4 separate regions of the Homo sapiens genome follow, and regions 1, 2 and 4 are each linked to region 3. The links are contacts of gene promoters, found by promoter capture Hi-C in human tissues and cell types (Jung and others, 2019). All regions are on one chromosome and are shown on one strand. The core of a region is centred on a gene start or on the middle of the fragment in contact, and the rest is flanking DNA. Distances in the headings are between cores, read along the strand shown. Region 1 has its middle 96 kb from the start of LINC02950. Region 2 has its middle 4.9 kb from the start of LINC02949. Region 3 holds the start of MFHAS1 (multifunctional ROCO family signaling regulator 1). Region 4 has its middle 75 kb from the start of LINC02950.

Region 1 (2,700 bases), core at 192-2,691, 340 kb before region 3:
CAGATGCTCACAACTCATTCCCAAGGCAAAAGCTTCCTCAAATGTCGAGGATACTCTAACCCTTGTAAATTATAAAATGGTCTATGCATGAATATAATTAGATTCAACAATTACAAAATAAAGAAAAATGATGGCTGGGATAGATGCATAAGTTTAATGAAACCCCAAGCATCAAATAGAGGTCAAAAGTTTCTCTTTTTATTAATCTTTAAAGTATGAGTCAGCTGTTGAGTTCATTGTGACAGTTATGGAAATATTTAGTCATCAAACCAAAAATGCTTTATGGCAAACTCCAAATATTAAGTATTTATTTATTTATTTATTTATTTATTTATTTACTTATTTAGAGATAGGGTCTCTTTTGTTGCCCAGGCTGGAGTGAAGTGGTGCGATCATTGCTTACTGCAGCCTCTACCTTCTGGGCACAGATGAATCCTCCCACCTCAGCTTCCCAAGTAGCTGGGAGTACAGGTGTGCCCCATTATGCCCAGCTAATTTTTTGTACTTTTTGTAGAGATGGAGTTTCACTATGTTGCCCAGGCTGGTCTCGAACTCCGGGGCTCAAGAAATCTGCCCGCCTCAGCCTCTCAAAGTGCTGGGATTGCAGGTGTGAGCCACTGCACCCTGCCTAGTCACTGATTAATCTACTTTTAAAAGTCTGAATCAATTGGGGCAGATCAAAGAGGATAAACTGATGTTAAGAAATGTAAAAGATCAGCAGAAAAACTGGACCCTCTGCCAAACTACAGGTAGTGCTCTCTAGCCTTTCCTGAAGGGCCTTGGAATACAGATATGAGAAGCACGTCAGTGTGTTATTAGCAAGGTTCTTAGCAGGCTGTGCTTTGCCACTTCCTTGAGAGTCAGCTGTCCCAAGGCAGAGATCTTTACAATTCGACCCAGACACTGTCGGTCATACCAGGAACTCCAGCACAGAACTTTCTGGAAACTCAGATGTGAGCACTCTACTTTCACTTTGTCATACTCATTTTAGAAGTAAATAAAATATACTGTAAAATTTATATACCATATGTCAGCTATGGGCAAATGATGTTATTGGAAAAAAAATCAAATTATGAATACAACATTCTTCCAATTTCTGAAGATACTCAGCTTAGTTCTTTCTCAATGGTGGGATTATAGATGGCTTTTTTTTTCATGCTTTTCTATATTCAACAAATATTACTTTAATAGTTAGAAAACATTTTAAAATACTCTATTCTCAATAAAGCATGTAAAAGAAAATAAAGATGATAAGCATAAAAAGTATTTAAGCTGGCTAGAAATTATAAGATAAAAATTAAAATAATCACTTTATATTATCAGATGGGTTAACAGAAAGAAAACCTACTAAATCCAAATATCAGCAAGACTACCCAGGAACTGACCCATCAGACATTGCTGTCAACAGTTTAAATTGATAGCATAGTTTTAGAGAAGAATCTACAATAAGTGAAAATATTCTTCCCATTTGACTAATTATAATGATAGTAATTTATCCTAAGGAAGTACTTCAAAAATAGAAAAACAAACCATAAGCACAAGGCTTTTATTATTTTTAAAAGCAAAAAAAGTTTGTGAGAAAAACAATATAAAATAATAAATTGGCTAAGTAACTTGTGATATGTAAATTAATATGATTTTAAGTACCTATTAATATATGAAAACCATATGAGCATAAAATTGTTTATAGCAATGCTAAGTTTAAAAAGAAGGAAAAGTCTACATATAATATGATTAAAATGCATAAAAATATGTAAAATGTAACTAAAGACTAGAAGGAAGCCATGGAGAAATTAGAATAATTGTGCTTGAGTCATGAGATTTTGAACGAAATTTTCAAAAAAAGTACAAGATTTTATTTTTAATGGAAATTTCTTTGTAATAAAGTATTTTAACACAAAGTATTCTCTTCAGCAACATAAAATTATTCTAAATAGAGCAGATTATGTGTTTCTTCAGACGCAAACAGGGTTTTCACCTCCTTATTTTTACCCTCAATCAGATAGGTAGCATTGTGTGTGTATTCTTAGCATCTGTATTCTTACAATTCTTGCAGTTCAATCTCCCTAGTGTAAAAAGTTCCTTTTTTAGTTTCTCCCCCAAATATGAAAACAATCAAGAAGCTATAATAATCAAAACAGTGTGGTATTGACATAAGGATAGACATACAGATCAATGGAATGGAACTGAGAGCCCAGAAATAAAATCATACATCTGTGTTCAATTGATTTTTGACAAGAGTGCCACCAAGACCATTCAATGGGGAAAGGATAGTCATTTCAACAAATGGTGCTGAGACAATTAGATAACCACAAGCAATAGAATCAAGTTGGATCCCTAACTCACACCATCTACAAAAATGAACTCAAAATGAATCAAACACATAAATGGAGGAGCAAAGACTATAACTCTCCTAGAAGAAAACATAGGGGTAAGTCTTCATGGCCTTGGATTAGGCAATGATTTCTTAGATGTGACACCAAAAACCACAAATGCAAAAGAAACAATAGATAAATGAGACCTTTTATCACAATTAAAAACTCTGCTTCAAAGGACACCTGAGGTGGGCAGATCACCTGAGGTCAGGAGTTTGAAACCAGCCTGGCCAACATGGTGAAACCCTGTCTCTACTAAAAATATAAAAATTAGCTGGGCGTGGTGGCACGTGCCTGTAGTCCCAGCTACTCAGGAGGCTGAGGC
Region 2 (2,700 bases), core at 191-2,690, 460 kb before region 3:
GCCACCGAGGGAACACTTGCTCTGACCCAGGTGGCTGTCAAGAAGCGACAGATTGAATCCCTCTAACTCATGTGGCAAATAGATTATTCTCATTTCACAGATGAAGAAACTGAGGCTCAGAGAGGTTAACTTGTTTAATTTCATAAAGCATGAGAGTGGGAAGATGAGATTTGAACCCGAGTTCCTCAGAATTGTATAATATCTTGCTGTTTACTCTTTCTTTTCTCTCTCTCTCTCTTTTTTTTTTTTTTTTTTGTTGTTGTTGTTGTTGAGGCAGGGTCTCGCTCCATCACTCAAGCTGGAATGCAGCAGCACGATCGTGGCTCACTGCAACCTGCACCTCCCGGGCTCAAGAGATCCTCCCACCTCACATCCTGAGTAGCTGGGACTACAGGCACACACCATCATGCCTGGCTAATATTTGTATTTTTTGTAGAGATGGAGTTTCCCCATGTTGGCCAGGCTGTTCTCAAACTTCTGGACTCAAGCAATTCACCCACCTGTGCCTTCCAAAGTGCTGCAATTACAGGCATGAGCCATCATGCTTGGCTTACTCTTTTTTTTTTTTTTAAACAATCAGTTTAACTTCTGAAATGTTCATATTAATCCTGATGCTGCTAAAAATTGTATTTCTAGAGAAACTCACATTGGCACTTCAAAATGGATATTTTTGTAACCTTTACCAGAATACAACAAAGCTTCAGAACACCACTGAATGTCACAGTGAATTCGTATGGCTGGAGAGCTGCCTGGGAATTAAGGCTCAGATCCCAGGTTCGCTATGGAATAAAAATACTATTTCTGATAAGATAGATGGTCTCTCACTTTGGTACATTTTCTTCCACTCTTTTAAAACAAAGATGACTCTTTTTCTGTGTTTTTGCTTCTGAGATAATATGAAACTTCAGGAAGTCCTGTTTGGTTCAGTGGAGCCAACTGGGACAAAGTTGCTATAAAAATCTGAAGAATCAGCCCCTGTAAGGAACAATTTGACAACCACAACCATAGCCAGCAGAAACATGATTAACACCATCATCATCAATACTACCACAGCCATCATCACCATTACCACTATCATCAATATCACCAACAACATCATTTTTATCGTCACTGTCATCATTACCATCATCATCATCAGACTTTCCTAGGATAGGACAGATGAGGTAGTTTCCTCTTCCTCATGTGAATTTATGATTTTCCTATCATAAATTATCCCCCACAAGTTATCTCCCACAATTACCCATGCCTGTTCAAACTTCAAATATTTTAACCATGACTTTGACAGGATACAGACTTTGTGTAAGTGAAAACAAATATTCAAGATGCATGCATGGCAGAGGTCATTTACAAACTTCTCTCTTTGATCAGTCAAATTCTTTTCATTGTTTACATAATAGTGGTCAGCCTTCAAAAGTGTCTTTGAAGTAAGTTTCAATATATGCTTTGCCTGACTCACTCACCAACCCAAAACACACACACACACACACACACACACACACGCGCGCGCGATTGCATACACACACACTTACTTGTATAACAACTTGCTTATATACTGATGTTCTCTAAGTACAAATGTCCTCCCATGGCCTGTCTCTCAAGTCCCCAGATTTATACACTGTGTCACTACTAAACTTGGGATCAGATGTTGCTCTCTAAGTACAGGTGATTCTTTTTTATTTTTTTGAGACAGAGTCTCACTCTTGTCACCCAGGCTGGAGTGCAGCGGCAAGATCTGGGCTCACTTCAACCTCCGCCTCCCGGGTTCAAGCGATTCTCCTGCCTCAGCCTCCAGAGTAGCTGGGACTACAGGCACCTGTCACCACGCCCATCTAATTTTTGTATTGTTATTAGAGACGGGGTTTCACCATGTTGGCCAGGTTGGTCTCGAACTCCTGACCTCAGGTGATCTGCCCACTTCAGCCTCCCAAAGGGCTGGGATTACAGACACAAGCCACCATGCCTGGCCAAGTACATGTGATTCTAATCTACAATGACATGTAACACAAGAACAATATTTATTTATTTATTTATTTGAGACAGAGTCTTGCTCTGTCGCCCAGGCTGGAGTGCAGTGGCGCAATCTCAGTTCACTGCAAGCTCCACCTCCCGGGTTCATGCCATTCTCCTGCCTCAGCCTCCTGAGTAGCTCACACTACAGGCACCTGTCACCACGCCTGGCTAATTTTTTGTATTTTTAGTAGAGATGGGATTTCACCGTGTTAGCTAGGATGGTCTCAATCTCCTGACCTGCTGATCCACCCGCCTCAGCCTCCCAAAGTGCTGGGATTACAGGCGTGAGCCACTGCGCCGGGCCCGAACAAGCTTTATGTTTAAAAACTGTAACTCATAGATATGAGTATTAAGATTAATTTTTTAAGTTAATTTTTAATTAATTTTTAAAATTTAATTTAATTTTTTAAAATTAATCTATTGGATTTTAAGTATACAAAAGCTATTGTCCATTTCAGAATAGCAATATAAAAAGTCCTTAAGAATCTGTCTGAAGGCTGGGCACCAGACCATCCTGGCTAACACGGTGAAGCCACGTCTCTACTAAAATTACACACAAAAAAAATTAGCCGGGCGTGGTGGCGGGCACCTGTAGTCCCAGCTACTCCGGAGGCTGAGGCAGGAGAATCGCTTGAATCAGGGAGGGGGAAGTTGCAGTGAGCCGAGATTACACCATTGCACTCCAGTCTG
Region 3 (2,700 bases), core at 185-2,684:
AACTCCTCGAAGAGGTTGGAGGAGAGGTTGAGCATTTTGAGCCGCTGCAGGCAGCTGAACTGGGCGGGCAGAGCCTGCAGCCCGTTGTTGTCTAGCATGAGGCTCTCCAAACTGGCCAGCTCGCAGAAGCCGGCGGGCAGCGTGCCAAGCTCGGCCCCACTCAGCCAGAGGATCTTGAGGGCACGCAGGGCACTGATATCCTCAGGCAGGCCCCGCAGCCGGTTGCTGGACACGTCCAGCTCCTCCAGGGCCACCAGCTGCAGCAGCTGCCGGGGGAAGGCAGTGAGCTGGTTGTGATCCACGTCCAGGGTGCGCAGGCGGGAGAGGCAGGAGAGGGAGTCAGGCAGGTGCGCCAGCCGGTTAAAGCTGACATCCAGCTCCTCCAGGTGAGCGAGAGCGCCCAGCTGGGCGGGCAGGGCGGGCAGCTGGTTGTGGCTGAGGTTGAGCTTCCGCAGCTCCCTCAGAGCACTCACCACCTCCGCGCCCAGGGCGGTCAGCCGGTTGTGGCTCACGTCCAGCTCGGTGAGGTGGTGGCCGAGCTCGGCCACCGCCGGGGGCAGCCGGGCGAAGCGGTTCCTGCGCAGGACCAGGACGCGCAGGCTGCCCAGCGCCGACCCCAGCCCCTCGGGTACCTCCTCCAGGCCGTTGTTCCCCAGGTTCAGTGCCTCAATGTCCCCGAGGTTGGCCGGCAGCACGAGCTGGGGGGAGGCGGGGGACTCGAGCGCGTCGGCCCCGGCCCCGGGGCAGGCCCCGGCGGCGGTAAGCGTGAGCTGGCGCAGGTTGCTCCGCAGCTTCCTGGCACGCAGGGCGGCGTCCCGCCACAGCCTCGCGGTCTTCAGGTTGCCACTGTCCATCCCAGCCATGGCGGGGCCCCGGGCCGACAGCCTCACGCGGACGCGGGAGCCCGCAGCTACATGCCGCGCCGCGCCCCGGGCCCTCCGGCTCCTGCCCCTGCCTGCCCTCCCGCGCTCGGCGGCCGGCGGCCGCGGGTCCTAGCGCAGCCAGCGGCCGAGCGCTGGCGGCTAGGGGGCGGCGGCGACGCGAGCGGCTCCGGGGGACGCCGAGCGCGTGGAGAGCAGCTTGCATTCTCCCTGCGGCCGGGCCATGGGCGCGCCGGGCAGCAGGGCCGCCGCCCGCGCGCCGCGGAGGATGCCTGCTCCTCCTCCCTCTCCGCCCGCCGCGCGGCGCCTCGGGGGGCCCGGCTCCGGCCCCGCTACCCTCGCAGCCGCGGTCCCGCGGCCGGCAGCGGCGTCGCCTCCTCGAGCTCCTGGGGGAGGGCGGCGCTCGGCCCGGCGGCGGGCATGCTGCGGGCGCAGGGCTGGGGCGCAGCCGCGGGGAGGGGGCGGCGGCGCCTCCTTGTCTCCGTTTCCCCGGGCTCGGGCGGGAGCGCGGGCGCCGCGTCCCCGGCGCTGGGAGGGCGCGATTGGGAAGCGGCAGCGCCGCCCGCCGGAGCGGCCCCCACGTGACCGGCGGAGGCGCCGCGTTTTCCCGGCACCGCCCCGGGGGCGGGAGCTGCGGAGGGCGCCGGGTGCGGGGCCGGGGGCGCCTGGCGCGGGGCCGGGTCCGCGCCCCGGACCATGCTGGGCGGGGAGGTCGTCCCAGCGGCGGATGTGGGGCTCCGGGGCCCCCCTGGTGGGTTCGCCCGCGCCTGGCTCTTTGTTGGCCCCCAGTCTCTAAGGATTTCTTTTTCTTGTTCTCTAATGCGTCGGATCCGCCGGCTTCCCTTACTCATCCTTTACCTGCTCCCCTGCCGCTCGCCTTGCATCCACGCCGTAGTGGAACTGGCACAACTCGGGGGCCCTGGGTATCATCATAGAAGCTTAGGACAAGAGTGTGGTTAAACAAAATTAGAACAGGCAACCATTCATTCATTTGGTAAATATTTCCTGAGGCCCTATTTCGTGTTGAACATGGGACAGGAGTAATGCAGGCTGGTCAGAGGAGAATAAAAAATACCAGGCAGCAGTTTCACTTGACTGGAGGCTATGGGCTGATAAGACCCTGAAAACCAGGGTGTGTACCAAGCTGGCTAAGACCGGCTGGACCCGACGTGGTCCTGGATTTGACCTAGGTTTCTCCTAGGCCTCCATTATACGCTCTTTAACATCCTAAGTCACACCAGTGCCATGACAATTCCGGGGACACCCATATTTGAAGTAAAAATGGGTGGCACCACAGTCCCGAAAAATCTCCACACTTTTCCAGGAATTTTCATGAATATTTCACCCCTTGGTTAAAGAAACCCATAAAGGTAGCAGCCCCAAGCCCCGTTGTGAGTGACCCTCTCCACAATCCCTTTTCCTGGGTGTGTACTTTTCCCTTTGCAATAAATCTGCATATTGTCACTATTTTCTGAGTTGTCCTTGAACTCATTCTCTGGATGTGTCAAGAGCCTGGACATTGGCTGGGGTCAAGGTCGCACTGGCTTTAGAGGATCTCCCCCAGCCCACCCGTACCAGAACTACTAAAAGACGGTTTTAACCCCCCTGGGGAAGGCTTTTGAGCAGGTGGCCCGCCAGCCTAAAGGAGGGTTGTTAAGATGGGGGGGACACAAGCTGTTTATCTGGGGTATCCCGTTTATCTTCACAACAACGCTGTGAAACAAATACTGTATCCCCATTAATACAGTACCTGTTGTTCTGCGGACTCAAGAAAACAGCTATTTTGGGAAACAGTCACAGTCCATTGTTCAACTCTAAT
Region 4 (2,700 bases), core at 196-2,695, 360 kb before region 3:
CATGATTCATGCCAAGGCTCCAAGAGTTCTACCCGCCATTGCATTTGTCCCATCCATACAGATGTTAATACAGTGAAAAAGCAAACAGGACCTTCATATTGTTAGAGAGATAGTTTTGACTTCGTGGAGCCACTGAAATGATTGCAAAGATCCCTGGTGGTGGTAGGGGGGTGTATTAGTCTGTTCTCATGCTGCTAACAAAGACATACCCCATACTGGGTAATTTGTAAAGGAAAGAGGTTTAATGGACTCACAGTTTCACATGGCTGGGGAGGCTTCACAATCATGGTGGAAAGTGGAGGAGGAGCAAAGGCACATCTTACATGGTGGCAGATAAGGGCATGTGCCGGGGAGCTCACCTTTCTAAAACCACCAGATCTCTTGAGACTTATTCACTATCACGAGAACAGCATGGGAAAAGCCTGCCCCTATGATTCCATTCCCTTCCACTGGGTCCCTCCCACAACGTGCGGGGGTTCTTACAATTCAAGGTGACATTTGGGTGGGGACACAGAACCAGACCATATTGGGGGTATCTATGAACTACTCTTTGAGAACCACATTCTAGAAGGACTGGGTGACCCCTGGAATCTGACATGACCCAGTCCTTCACGTGCGGGGTAGAGATACCAGGACTCAGGATCTAGGCAGCAGAATTCCCATCAGGCTTGGTCCCAAAATACTTCCTCTTCTCAAATTAGGTCCATTTCTAGCCTCATGGAACTTAACACATGAGTAGAGAGAGACAGACAATGAACAAAATAAATAAATAACATAGTATATCACAAAGGGATAAGTGCAGTGTAGAAAAGTAAAATGGAAAAAGAGACTGGGGTGGGGACGAGCTTTCCTATTTTAAACAGAGTGATCCTGAAAGCTTACCTTGGGCCCCCATTTAACCTCAACCACTTGATGAGACAAATCTTATTCCCATTTTAGAGATGAGGCAATTGAGGAACAGCTGGATTAAGTGATTTGTTGAGTGTCTCATAGCCAGTAAATGGCAGATCTGGGATTCAGACTCTAAAGCTTGATTCTCCCCACTGCACCTCATTCTCCCAGGTCTATAACAGGTCTCAAACATTAACTTCTAACTTAAGACCCAGCAACAATTCATTTTTTTCTTTTTTTGAAACAGGGTCTCACTTTGTCACCCACACTGGAGTGCAGTGGCTCGATCATAGCTCACTGCAGCCTCGAACTCCTGGGCTCAGGTCATCCTCCTGCCTCAGCCTCCTGAGCAGCTGGGATTACATGTATGTATCACCATGCCTGGATTTTATTTTATTTTATTTTATTTTATGTACTGTATTGTATTGTATTGTATTGTATTGTATTGTATTGTATTGTATTGTATTGTATTGTATTGTACTGTACTGTACTGTATTGTATTTGTAGAGACAGGGTCTTGCTTTGTTGCCCAGGCTAGTCTGGAACTCCTGGCTTCAAGCGATCCTCCCACCTTGGCCTCCCAAACCACTGGGATCACAGGTATGAGCCACTACATCCCTGGCCCTGCAACATTTCTAATTTGTCGCCCCAACTTTGATGTCCTAAGTCTATTTAGGGAAACACGATGACAATTTTTCAAATGGAAAAGATGAGCAAGGAAAAAGGCACAATAACCTCAGAAGACACCAAAATGTACATTTCAGGGAAAATCCTATGTTTGACCATTAGACCTTTGAGTGGATCTCCTTGTAGACACTGGATTTCACCTCTTTGTTTATTCTCTGAGTGTTTAGGAAGCATTTTCTTTGTTTGTGCATGGTAGTGGGTGCTGGGGGAGGAGCCCTACTTCCTATGCTGTAGCAGCTCACAGTTTTAGAGGAGAGGGAGAGAGGAACCAGGGAACATTCCAAAGGCAAGGGGAACCTCACAACCTTAACCAGCAGCATTAGAAGGTGAGGTTAATTTGGCTAAGGATTAGACACAAATGTATGAACACACACACACACACACACACACACACACACACACACACACACACACACATAGCTGATTCCTATGTCTGTGACCTAAGACCTCCTGCCCTATATTACATGAAACTTCTAAAAAGGACATAAATGGCTCCCACATCTGCATAACCTATATTCTCTCACTCCATACGACTAGGATGATGGGAACTTTATAAATGGAAACACTGGAGACAATCACTCTATTTAATCCTAACAGCCATATGACAAAGATATTACTTGTATCTCACAGATGAGGAAATTGAGGCTTTAAGAGCCTATTTGCAAGCTGGGTGCAGTGGCTCACGCCTGTAATCCCAGCACTTGGGGAGGCCGAGGCGGGCGGATGACCTGAGGTCGGGAGTTCAAGACCAGCCTGGCCAACATGGTGAAACCCTGTCTCTAATAAAAATACAAAAATTAGCCAGGCATGATGATACATGCTTGTAATTCCAGCTACTCAAGAGGCTGAGACAGGAGAATCACTTGAACCCCAGAGGTGGAGGTTGCAGTGAGCCAAGATCTTGTCACTGCACTCTAGCCTGGGCAATGAAGCAAGACTCCATCTCAAAAAAAAAAAAAAAAAAAAAAAAAAAAAAAAAAAAAAAGAGCCTATTTTCTTTACTTGGTTTATTTCTGTTTCATTGCTTCGGGCCTAAGCAACCACACAACTGAAGCCATCTCCCATAAGAAAGGTGTGCCCAGTCTCAATCCTGTTCCCAAAACATCCCCAGGCCATGCTTCC

The links. Contacts are between HindIII fragments. The study calls those that stand out against the background at their distance.
Region 1: a contact is called between a fragment that was not itself captured here and the fragment with the promoter of MFHAS1 in region 3, in 2 of the 25 tissues and cell types used here (dorsolateral prefrontal cortex and mesendoderm cells).
Region 2: a contact is called between a fragment that was not itself captured here and the fragment with the promoter of MFHAS1 in region 3, in 1 of the 25 tissues and cell types used here (lymphoblastoid cells).
Region 4: a fragment that was not itself captured here is called in contact with the fragment with the promoter of MFHAS1 in region 3 in 2 of the 25 tissues and cell types used here (bladder and thymus).

What each region holds. Positions count from the first base shown.
Region 1 is chr8:8,556,297-8,558,996 of GRCh38, forward strand. No RefSeq gene overlaps it. Among named protein-coding and RNA genes, the nearest start is that of LINC02950, 96 kb to the left of the region's middle. The HindIII fragment of the contact is 4,839 bases long and covers 1-2,700 here.
Region 2 is chr8:8,428,130-8,430,829 of GRCh38, forward strand. No RefSeq gene overlaps it. Among named protein-coding and RNA genes, the nearest start is that of LINC02949, 4.9 kb to the left of the region's middle. The HindIII fragment of the contact is 5,506 bases long and covers 1-2,700 here.
Region 3 is chr8:8,892,196-8,894,895 of GRCh38, forward strand. It overlaps MFHAS1 (multifunctional ROCO family signaling regulator 1), which reads right to left and starts at 1,435. Exons shown (of 3, transcript NM_004225.3): 1 at 1-1,435. The coding sequence starts at 863. RefSeq lists an enhancer at 1-816 and silencers at 661-930, 1,041-1,320, 1,331-1,580. The HindIII fragment of the contact is 6,822 bases long and covers 1-2,700 here.
Region 4 is chr8:8,534,762-8,537,461 of GRCh38, forward strand. No RefSeq gene overlaps it. Among named protein-coding and RNA genes, the nearest start is that of LINC02950, 75 kb to the left of the region's middle. The HindIII fragment of the contact is 5,628 bases long and covers 1-2,700 here.